3 separate regions of the Homo sapiens genome follow, and all the other regions are linked to region 2. Evidence: promoter capture Hi-C in 16 types of primary human blood cells and fetal thymus (Javierre and others, 2016). All regions are on one chromosome and are shown on one strand. Each heading gives the region's core, a stretch centred on a gene start or on the middle of the fragment in contact. The rest is flanking DNA. Distances are from core to core; before and after follow the strand shown.

What was found. The method cuts DNA at HindIII sites, captures the fragments that hold promoters and counts their contacts. A CHiCAGO score of 5 or more calls a contact.
Region 1: the fragment with the promoter of SOWAHC here is called in contact with the fragment with the promoter of GCC2 in region 2 in 5 of 17 cell types (monocytes, non-activated CD4 T cells, fetal thymus and 2 more); the score reaches 7.2 in monocytes.
Region 3: a contact is called between a fragment that was not itself captured here and the fragment with the promoter of GCC2 in region 2, in 1 of 17 cell types (fetal thymus). The highest score is 6.2, in fetal thymus.

The regions. Positions count from the first base shown.
Region 1 is chr2:109,612,292-109,615,761 of GRCh38, forward strand. SOWAHC (sosondowah ankyrin repeat domain family member C) reads left to right here and starts at 2,073. Exons shown (of 1, transcript NM_023016.4): 1 at 2,073-3,470. The coding sequence starts at 2,199. SEPTIN10 (septin 10) reads right to left here and starts at 1,675. Exons shown (of 11, transcript NM_144710.5): 1 at 1,507-1,675. The coding sequence starts at 1,536. It also overlaps a transcript of RANBP2 not described here. RefSeq lists an enhancer at 565-1,474 and silencers at 1,327-1,416, 1,447-1,696, 1,957-2,126. The HindIII fragment of the contact is 4,568 bases long and covers 344-3,470 here.
Region 2 is chr2:108,447,456-108,451,347 of GRCh38, forward strand. GCC2 (GRIP and coiled-coil domain containing 2) reads left to right here and starts at 1,751. Exons shown (of 23, transcript NM_181453.4): 1 at 1,751-1,825; 2 at 2,178-2,234; 3 at 3,573-3,657. The coding sequence starts at 1,820. RefSeq lists enhancers at 691-1,673, 1,578-1,837, 1,674-2,655, 2,741-3,241, 3,242-3,742. The HindIII fragment of the contact is 5,578 bases long and covers 1-2,729 here.
Region 3 is chr2:110,210,816-110,214,537 of GRCh38, forward strand. MTLN (mitoregulin) reads right to left here and starts at 1,732. Exons shown (of 2, transcript NM_001384134.1): 1 at 1,400-1,732; 2 at 714-807. The coding sequence starts at 1,710. The coding sequence ends at 1,540. RefSeq lists enhancers at 1,635-1,884, 1,985-2,034. The HindIII fragment of the contact is 4,642 bases long and covers 1-3,722 here.

The DNA.
Region 1 (3,470 bases), core at 823-3,322, 1.2 Mb after region 2:
GGGTTAAGAAGGAGGCAGGGCAGGAAAGAAGTGTGTGTGGTTATAAAAAGGCATTAAGGGATCCTCCTGGTCCTGGGAACATCCTTTATCTTCACTGTATCAATCAATGACAATATGCTGGTTGTGATATCGTACTATGGGTTTGCCAGATCTTATTGTGGAAAGGTGGATAAAGGGTACAGGGTTCTCACTATACTGTATTATTTCTTACAACTGCATATTAATCTACAATTAACGCAAAATACAGTTTAATTCGAAAATAAGTAAAGTTAGCCTCAAAGCAAATTAAGTACAATTAAAAATAAATCTAACATCAGCTAAATGAAGTGTTCTCTTCTGCTCAAGCTTGTTTGGATACGTAATCTATGAATCAAAGAATTTATAAAACACATTTTCCTCACCAGGACCCCTCAATTTTCCCTCACTCACACATGCACACAAACACAGCAACTGAGACAAGGGGGTCCAGACAGAAAATTTGAGATTTTTAAAAAATACGCGATAGAATGAAAAGAGACCTGGGCTGAATCAGGGAGAAAAATCTTTGTCCAGGTTCTATAAAACAAACCAACGGTGTCACTTTGGACGGATCCTCTAATCTCTCAGCCTGCAATCTGAACTGTTTCTACAATTTAAACTTCTCATGTAGGAGGTTGCTTAGTAGAGTGGTTCTCAAACTTTTTGGTCTCCAGCCTCCAAAGAGCTTTTGTTTACACAGATGAAAACCACCAATGTTTACTATCAAAAATTAAAAGGGAGAATTTGTTTTTAAGAATACACAGGCATCGGGCCTCCAAACGGCGGTGAGATCACTCCATACCATGTAGCCTTTGGAAAACTCGATGTACACGACCTTGGTACTATTAACGAAAATAGTTGTAACCACACTTGGAAAACCGCTGGCTTACTAACAAGCGAGATAAATCTACAAAAGTAACTGGAAAGGTTCAAAACAGTGAACAAACGCGTTCTTTTAGAGTACAAAAGAGTCAAGGCGGGAAAAAAACGGTTTAAAATCCCAATGGAGGAAAACTTGGACGACCACACCATCGGATAAAACGGGAGAGCTTTTGAAAAGCCAGGGGAGCCGGGCTTTCTCCCGGCGGCAGGGAGGCTCGGAAGTGCTCACGGCTGCAAAAGATGACCGCTATTCAATCAGTCCGCACTGCGCCTTCAACTCCGTTATAGCCGTAAGAGACCCACAAACACCGCTGTGGATGTAACTTTTGGCAAAGACCGGGAAGTCGTTCAAGAACTCTCCCACCGTCCCGACGCTGGCGCCGCGCCCCGCGAACCGGGGTCCGGCCGCGCCCAGGCTCCGCAGAGGCTCCTCTCCCGCCCCAGGCGCCCGGCCGCCGCGGAAGCCGGGGAGCACTGGGCGGGCGGGGCCGGAGGGGGCGCGGGTCACAATCCCGGGCCGGACCAGGGGGCCGGTGGGTCGAGGGCGGGAAGTCCCGCGGGGGCCGGGGAGCGCGGGGCTGGGGCCCCGGCGTCGGCGGGACTCACCAGGTGCCGCGCCACCTCGGAGGAGGCCATGGTCGCGGGCAGGGGCACGGTGAAGCGGCTGTATCAGCCCGGCCCCGAGCGGCTGGTCCCGGCGACGGCGGCGGGAAGGCCGGAGGGCAGAAGCAACGGGCGGGGCGCGAGGCTAGGCTGCCTCCGCGACGGGGAAGGGACAGGGGCGGGGCCGAGCTGGAGGCCTCCGGGGGCGGGGTTGGGGCGGACGCCCTGTGGTGCGCGCTGAGCGTTTTGCCTGCGCCAAGCGAGCCCCTCACAGGAGCTACCCTCGACGCCTGAGGACTGAGCGTCAGCGTTGGGGCGGGCTGAAGGAGAGCTGGGACTCCAGGAAGACGGCGCGAGGAATGCAGGCGGGAACTGCGGAGCAGTGATTGCGGCCCTCGCGAGGCCGGAAGTGGGCGGGCCTTGAGGCGAGGCCGCCCTAGGTAGGTGTGGCCGAGACAGCGGGGAGCGGAAGTGGGCGTGGCCTGGTGGCGTGGGCGCGGGGCGGGGGTGCGGGGGGCGTGTCCGCCCGGGCGCGGCCCAGTGAGGCGGTGGCCGAGTCCTCTGGCCTCAGACGCGTAGGCTGGCAGCCCGCTGAGCCCGCCAGACTCCGCCGCCGTCGGGAGCCGGCCGCTGGGAGCCCGTCGCTATGGGACCGCGCTGAGCCGCCCGCTGGCGGGGGAGCAGCGCGGTCGAGGATGGAGGGGCCGGCAGAGTGGGGCCCCGAGGCGGCGCTGGGCCCCGAGGCGGTGCTGCGCTTCCTGGCGGAGCGCGGGGGCCGGGCCCTGCACGCCGAGCTGGTGCAGCACTTCAGGGGCGCCCTAGGCGGCGAACCGGAGCAGCGCGCCCGCGCCCGCGCGCACTTCAAGGAGCTGGTGAACGCCGTGGCCACTGTGCGCGTCGATCCCGCCGACGGCGCCAAGTACGTGCACCTCAAGAAGAGGTTCTGTGAAGGGCCGTCCGAGCCCTCCGGGGACCCGCCGCGAATCCAGGTGACCGCCGAGCCCGAGGCCCCCGACGGCCCTGCCGGGCCCGAGGCGCGCGATCGGCTCCCCGACGCGGCGGCCCCGGAGTCGCTCCCTGGACAGGGCCGCGAGCTGGGCGAGGGAGAGCCCCCCGCCCCCGCGCACTGGCCGCCCCTGAGCGCCGGGGCTCGCAGGAAGAACTCGCGGCGCGACGTGCAGCCCCTACCGCGGACTCCAGCCCCGGGGCCCAGCGAGGACCTGGAGCTCCCGCCACATGGCTGCGAGGAGGCGGACAGGGGCAGCTCCCTTGTGGGGGCTACCGCACAGAGGCCGGCCCGCCAGAACCTCCGTGACCTGGTGATGGGCAGCTCCCCGCAGCTGAAGAGGAGCGTGTGTCCCGGGGGCAGCAGCCCGGGCAGCTCCTCCGGGGGAGGACGCGGCAGAGGCGGGGGCGACTCAGACAGCGCATCGGTGGCCTCGTCGTCCGCGGAGGAGGAGAGCAGCGGCGGAGGCTCCGTGACGCTGGACCCCCTGGAGCACGCGTGGATGCTCTCTGCCTCCGATGGCAAGTGGGACAGCCTGGAGGGCTTGCTCACCTGCGAGCCCGGCCTGCTGGTCAAGCGGGACTTCATTACCGGCTTCACTTGCCTGCACTGGGCCGCCAAGCACGGCAGGCAGGAGCTTCTGGCCATGCTAGTCAACTTCGCCAACAAACACCAGCTGCCGGTGAACATCGACGCCAGGACGAGCGGGGGTTACACCGCCCTGCACTTGGCAGCCATGCACGGCCACGTGGAGGTGGTGAAGCTGCTGGTGGGGGCCTACGACGCCGATGTGGACATCAGGGACTACAGTGGGAAAAAGGCCTCCCAGTACCTGAGTCGGAGCATCGCCGAGGAGATCAAGAACCTGGTGGGAGCCCTGGACGAGGGTGACGGGGAAAGCGCCGCGGGTAGCGGCGGCGGGCGCTGGAGGCTTTCAAAGGTGCTTCCCTCGCATCTCATC
Region 2 (3,892 bases), core at 501-3,000:
CAGAAGGTATCCGATGGTCAAGAACATTATACCTGCCTCCATCATCTCAGAAAATAAAATTCCTGTCCAATGACAACCAGGAAGGCAGATGGGGGTGAGCTCGAGCTGTGTGAGGAGGCCGCTGATGACCTGGAGCTTAGGGGTGTGCTGACCCTCATCTCCCTGGGGATTCCCAGGAGACGCTGCCCTACCTGTAGCTGCAACTCATGGACCCTGTTACCCAGCCAAGTGCAATGGAGGGCTGGCGAGGGAAGAAAGATCAAAGGAAGAAAAGAAAGGTTCTTTTTTATTTCAAGTATGAGAAAAAGAGAGTTCTACTGTGAGAACATCAACTCTTCTGTAGCTATTGATGTAGCCAAACTCCTGGAATGTAACTATATCTAACAGTGTTTCTCTGAGAAACTTTTACAGGATTGGAATGTGTGTAGTATCTAGTTAACCTGCTATTTTATTGCAAGTGATTTTTTCAAGTTATTAATTGAAATAGGAGTCTACCGTAAGTTGCTCTTAACTTGGGGAACTACTTTGAATGGCATTAATCTGGACCATTAATAACAATGTATACTTGGGGATTGTGTGTGTGTGTGTGTATACATGTGTGTGCATATATGTGTGTACACACACGTGCACACACACGTGCGCGCACACGTGCACACACACACGTGCACACACACACGTGTACACACACACGTGTACACACACACGTGTGTTACTGTACGTGGAGACTGTACATCTTAGGTCACACACCACCCCTGAACCAATCCTACAAACACCATAGGTGATACACACTGTCAAAGACAAAGAGTAGATGTCCACAATAGCTGTTCTTTCTCGTTTATAACACTTCTTTTACCTAGTAATAATCAGCTACCATTTACTCGATACATACTGTGTGCTGCCTCTTCAACCTTTTGACCATTTAAACTACAGGAAACTAGGTTATCTTCAGGTTACCTTAGTTATGGGAGTGTATGGAAAACATTAATGGGAAGGTGAAAGCGCAGCAAACCACTTCAGCAGTTAACAGAAAGGCTCTCAGAGCACTGGACCGCCAATCAGGACACAGCAGCAGCTCTGGGATTCGACCACAGATTCTCTGGCGTGCCCTTCGGGAAAGGGTGGCCTCGGGCCCCCTACTCTACAGAGTCTCCTCCCACGGCTGCCCAGTTCCCTGGCCGACTATCTTGCCTCCACCACATCACCATCAGTACCGGGCGGCTGCAGGGCAGAGCTGTCCAGGGACCTCCTCACAGCCTCCAGAGTCAAGAAATGCCTCCTCAGGGAAGCCCTCTACCGCATCCCTGACCTGTGAGTCACGGAGCTCCCGGGCACCATGCTGGCCACAAATGCCTAAGGAGCCCCCCGGAACCAGCTGTGGGTCCCGCAGGCACTCGCAGGCTAGCGGACACCTTTGGAGGACTGAGAGACCTGTCCTGCAATCCAATGTTCCTCACTCTCACAAGATTTTACAGACGTGGAAACCGAGGCCCGAGGCCCCAAGGGGTAATCGGCCCGCCTTCCCATGCCAATAACCGGCAGTGGCGGGACCCACACCTACTCCGTGACCTGCAGGCCCAGGGGTCGAGCCCCAGGTAGAACGTCTAGACGGACTCCGCCCTTAGCGCCGTACGGGGAACCTTCTCCCGGACGCAGACACGGAAGCGGAAGTGCTGCCGAGCTGTAGCTATGGAGACGTGGGGGGCGGGCCGCCCGGAGAGCGCGACCTTTGACCTGCAGTAGAGCCTACGTCAGAGGCTGGCGCAAACAGAAGTGCAGCGGTGGCGGCGGCTGGTTGCGGGCCGGCGGCGGGCTGGCGGAGATGGAGGTAACTCAGGTCGGGCCCACTGCCTCCCATCAAGCCTTCCGCGCCGCGATTTGGGATGTGGGAGTGGGCCCGATGGGAGGGCGCGGTAGTCTCCCTCTTGGTGTCCCGAAGCCCGCGCTGCTGTCGCCTCCCCATCTTTCGTAAACTCTATCCCTGGGGGTTACCTGCCCCGTAGAGCCCGTTTGTGTACGAATTGCCACAGCGACCGCCTCCGTCCGCCCTCATTCTCTGTCTCACGAGGCTTTCCACCACTTGATTCCATAGAAGGTTTTTCCCTGTAAGGGTTCTACGCGTTCCGTGTGGAATTAGGAAAAGAGTTCTTCTGACACCTGGGTTTGATTTTGTTTTGCAGGATCTTGTTCAAGATGGGGTGGCTTCACCAGCTACCCCTGGGACCGGGAAATCTAAGGTGAAGAGAATACTTGAATAGCGGGCTTCCTGAAGAGTGGAAGGGTGATGAATTGGAAAACTTTGGCATGGGGAAGGGGGGGGCGCTGATTTTTTTTTTTTTAATAGCCTTGCTCCAAGGGATCTCAATTTTAGTGTGCGCAATCGCCCATTTCCTGTTTCTCCCCCGCCCACCCCGATATAGAAAGACTTTTTGTTTGCTTCCTGCTCCTGGTTAGCACTGCTGGGAGATCCTGCTATTTTTCGAACATAAAGCAGTCTAAGAAGGTTTATATAGTGGTGTAGTGGAAGGAGCAGTGACATAGGGTAGGAATCAAGGGATTCTGATCTGTGGGCTCCAGTTTCTACATTGCCAAAGAGTTTAATTAGTCCAGTTTTATGGCCCTGTACAATGTTTAACATTCAATCATTCTAAATGATAGTGGTTTATTGCTAAGGTTTATTGTGTGCATGCTAAATTTCTGGCGCTTGCCTAACCACTCAGTTCCTTCGTTTAAGCTTCATGATAACCATGAGATAGGTACTGTTGTTACCCTCCTTTTACAGATGAGAAACCTGAGACCACAGGCTTAAGCAATTTTCTCAAGTGGTAAAGCTCAATTTTTTAATTAAAGCCTGAATGTTACCCGGTTCATCTTGCTGCTGTAATTATGCGTAAATTTTCTTGTGACCAAAGACTTGCAGCCTTGAATAGAATGAAATAATTTTACAGCTCCAAGGAATTTTAAGTAGCATTAGCTCCAACCTACTGATTTTACAATTAAATCAAAAGCTAGCAATGTCAACCTGTAACATTAGCTATAAGAGGATATGGCCTGGTTTTTACGTTTCATAGTAGTTGCATAACTAATTTTTAGTAGTTGCATAGCAATTACAGAATTGACGTTGCATTTGCTGATTTTAAAAAATGTGGCCGGGCGCGGTGGGTCACGCCTGTAATCCCAACACTTTGGGAGGCCGAGGCGGGCAGATCACCTGCGGTCAGGAGTTTGAGACCAGCCTGGCCAACATGGTGAAACCCCGTCTCTACTAAAAATACAAAAATTAGCCGGACGTGGTAGCGGGCGCCTATGATCCCAGCTATTTGGGAGGCTGAGACAGGAGAATTGCTTGAACTTGGGAGGCAGAGGTTACAAGTGAGCCAAGATCGTGTCATGCACTCCGGCCTGGGCAATAGAGCGAGACTCTGTCTCAAAAAAAAAATGTGGAACAAAGTATGCGGTTGGCATAAAGATTTATTCTGTAGAATGTTTTTGTTTTCTAGCAGACATTGTTTCTTTTTTGTGGTATACTAGAAACATGAGTTATAACAAGTTGGTAACATGACCACATCTTTCAGCTGGAAACATTGCCCAAAGAAGACCTCATCAAGTTTGCCAAGAAACAGATGATGCTAATACAGAAAGCTAAATCAAGGTGTACAGGTATTGGGTTGAAAATACTCATCTTGATCACAGTCTCTTTAATCGTGGTTTAAAATGGTAGTTTTTAAAATAATGCATTGGCTTGTTTTTGTTTGTTTTCCAGTGATTCCAAGTACACCTTAGTGTAGTAGAATCTGTTATTTAACATTCTAAAAATTTACCTCTGATTTCTAAATTATTCCCACATCTCTAAACCACAGTGACTTTTGAGTTGTTAAAGTCAGGGAGGAGGATT
Region 3 (3,722 bases), core at 488-2,987, 1.8 Mb after region 2:
TGAACCGAGGAGGCAGAGGTTGCAGTGAGCCGAGATTGTGCCATTGCACTCCAGCCTGGACAACAAGAGTGAAATTCTGTCTCAAATAAAAAAGAAAAAAGAAAAAACTTATACTCTGTACTTGGAACACACTGTTTCGTTTTGGGTTGAGACAGGGTCTCGCTCTGTCATCCAGGCTGGAGTGCAGTGGTGAGATCACAGCTCACTGCAACCTTAACCTCCTAGGCTCAGGTGATCCTCCTGCCTCAGCCTCTGGTTTACAAATTAGCTGGACTCACAGGTGTGTGCCACCACGGCCAGCTAATTTGTAAGTTATTTGTAGAGACTGGGTCTCCCCATGTTGCCCTGGCTGGTCTCCAACTCCTGGGCTCAAGTGGTCCTCCCACCTCAACCTCCTAAAGTGCTGGGATTATAGGCCTGAGCAGGGCCAAGGAATACACTGTTACTCTTGGAAGTTCAAAGGTCTTACATATAGCACCCTTACCTCAGTTATGTTTACACAGCCCCCTGCTTTCCAAAAAGTTCGGTAAAAGAACCCATAATGGTCCCACGGCCAAGTCTGCTTTGTGCCTGTACCAAAGAAGGGGCACGAGTTACATAACACATCTGCTCAAAAACACTAGTAAGTCAGTTTTGAAAATGCAGATCTCTTGATGCAGTAAGGTGCAAGAAAAACATGATACTTCCCCTTATGAAAAAATAAAAGGGTCAAAGATGTTTAATTTTTTTATTTTAAAAATAAAATTGATTCATAAAGTGCAAGAAGAAGTCATTTCTTTCCGGTAGTCTATATGCATCTTCAACAAGCTGTTAGAAACAGAAAAGAGAAAAAAATTAGAAATACACAATCTGAAACTTCAAGCCGTACTGTGGTATTAAACCATGAACCATAAGATCTGGTTTACGACAAGAAAACTGAGGTCCTGAAAATTGATCATGCACAGCTCTTCTGAAGAGCTAAGACTGGATGCAAGGTTCCTGACTTCCAGGCCACTGCTCTTTCCACTTTACCAGGCTGCCAACAACCTAAGAATTCAGTTTGGAGTTTACAATCGCCAAGGCGAAGATGTGCTAACAAGGATGTTACTGAAAAGAATTGGGGGTGGCAAGATCACCTCCCTGGTTCTTTTTTTCTTTTGTTCTTTCCAGTATTTTCTATACTGATGTTTAATGTTGTCAGGATGAACGACGACATAGCACGTTGGTAAGACATTCTCATTAAACACCCAGTGAACCAAACCAAGATACCGAAGAGCAAGTTATCAGGGAAGACAAAACTTCCACCTTCTGGTGTCTGTGGGAACAAGTCCTGTCTTCTGCGACCTAGCCAGAGTTGATCCTAAGATATCCGCCCGACCCCAAAGTCTCCCTTTGCAATGTCACTATGTGTACTGCTCACCAACACTCCAGGAAGAGCCGGCCATGGCAGGCGGGGACTGTGTGGCAAGCCTGGTTCTGGGCGCCGGCGGACCGGGGCTCCGGCGCGGACATGGCAAGGTGGCCATGAGGGGGACAGAATGGGGCGGAAGGCGCAGAGTCTCAGGCCAGGTCCAGCTTCTTCTGCGTCGCCGCCAGCTTGTCCTGCAGCCTCCTTTTCCTCCAGTCCAAGTAGCGCCTCCGCAGTCGGTTCGCCTGCCAGCCCAGGAGTACTCCAGAAGCGAAGGCTACTAGCACGGACAACTGCAGTGTCCTCTCTGACACATCCGCCATGGCTGCCGCCGGCGTGCAGCGCGGTCTACGGCGCGGCGGCGGGGTCAAAAGGCGCCGCGCGTTCAAGGGTGGGGCGTGAGACAAAAATGAAGCGAAGGCGGCGAGGCGTTGGATCTCTCGAAACTCACTAATAGTCCCATCTGTCTCGCCTTCAACTGAAGACTTTCCCAGGCTTTGGACGACCCCACCTTCCACTTTCCTGAACCCCCACATTTCTTGTTGATGCCTTACATCATTAGCTAACATTGGGGGCGTATCTTGCTCACCCGACTGTAAGCTCTTCACCGCTCTGTATTTTCTCTCAGCAATAGAATGGGAGTGACTGGCGTAACTTTAAATTTTCTGGTAACCTGTTTTTTAAAAAATAAAAACAAAAACATGGAATTGTTTTTAATAATATATTTACTTATCCCAACATATAGGGGATGTTATCATTTCAACATGTAACTCGTTTTTAAATTATTAAGGAGATGCTTTATTTTTTTCATACCAAGTCTTTGAAAACTGGTCTGTATTTTACAGCGAAAGGCACATCTCAATTTGAACACTGAATTTTCAATGGAGATACCTATCAGTGTCTAGATTTCATAAAATGTACAGTTGAAAAAGTAGATTTATATACCCAAGCTGTTCTAAAAACACAAACATTTTTCCAATAACCGAATGGAGTACCAATTTAAATTTAAATTCATTAAAATTTTTTAAAAATTATAAACTCAGTTCTTCAGTCACACTAGCCATATATGGGACCAGTGGCTACCATATTGGACAACCCAGGTCTGGGGGTCATGCTGTACCAGAACTAACGTGGGGTCAAAATTGTTGGGATAGGAAACAAACAAACACATTTCTAATGATGAAAGTCATTTTGACACCCCCCCACCATGACTTCCACCTCCTAGTGTTCAGGCCTTTGTGTAATCCACTCCCCTTGAGTGTGGGTGTGACCTGTGACTTGCTTCTAACTAATATAATAAAGCAAAGGGGATGAGGATGTCACTCCTGTGATTACTACGTATATTAATCTGTTCTCACACTGCTCATAAAGACATACATGAGACTGAGTAATTTATAAAGGAAAGAAGTTTAATTGACTCACAGTTCCACATGGCTGGGGAGGCCTCACAATCATGGCAGAAGACAAAGGAGGAGCAAAGGCACATCTTACATGGCAGCAGGCAAGAGAGCCTGTGCAGGGGAACTTCCCTTTATAAAACCATCAGATCTCATGGGTCATATTCACTACCACGAGAACAGCACGGGAAAGACCCACCCTCATGATTCAATTACCTCCCACTGGGTCCCTCCCATGACATGTGGGAATTATGGGAGCTACAATTCAAGATTTGGGTGGGCACACAGCCAAAACATGTCACTGTGTATATAACATTTTTTAGCAAGTTAAAGACTCTCCTGTGGCTTGATGAAGTGGACGTGCTGGAGAAGCTCACAGAACAAAGAACTGCAGTGGCCTCTAGGAAAAGCCTCCAGCCAACAGCCAGCAAAAATCTGGAACCCTCAGTCCCAAAACCACAAGGAAATGAACTCTGCCCACAACCTGAATGAGCTTGGAAGCAGATTCTTCCCCATTTGAGCCTCCAGATGAAAACACAGCCTTACACATTGATTGCAGTCTTGTGAGATTATAACAGAGGACCCAGCTTAATTGTGCTTGGATTCCCGATCCATGGAAAATGTGAGATAATAAATGTGTATTGTTTTAAGTGACTACATTTGTGGTAATCTGTTACATGGTGTAAGATATGGGACAAAACAGAGTGTTTTTCCCACCTTAACTCTCAATACAGACCACCTCTGTTCACTAAACAATACATTCAATACTCTGACACCAGAGTTGGGGTGAGGGAGACCTTTTTCCTATACACCAATGAATTCTGCAGCAGACAACAACTGGGTGTCCTCTAATTCAATTTAATTTTGACACTTACCTACCTGGATGTAGCATCAGCCTCCATAGGTTGAGGGCTCAGTCCCATAAGACTTCTTCCTAC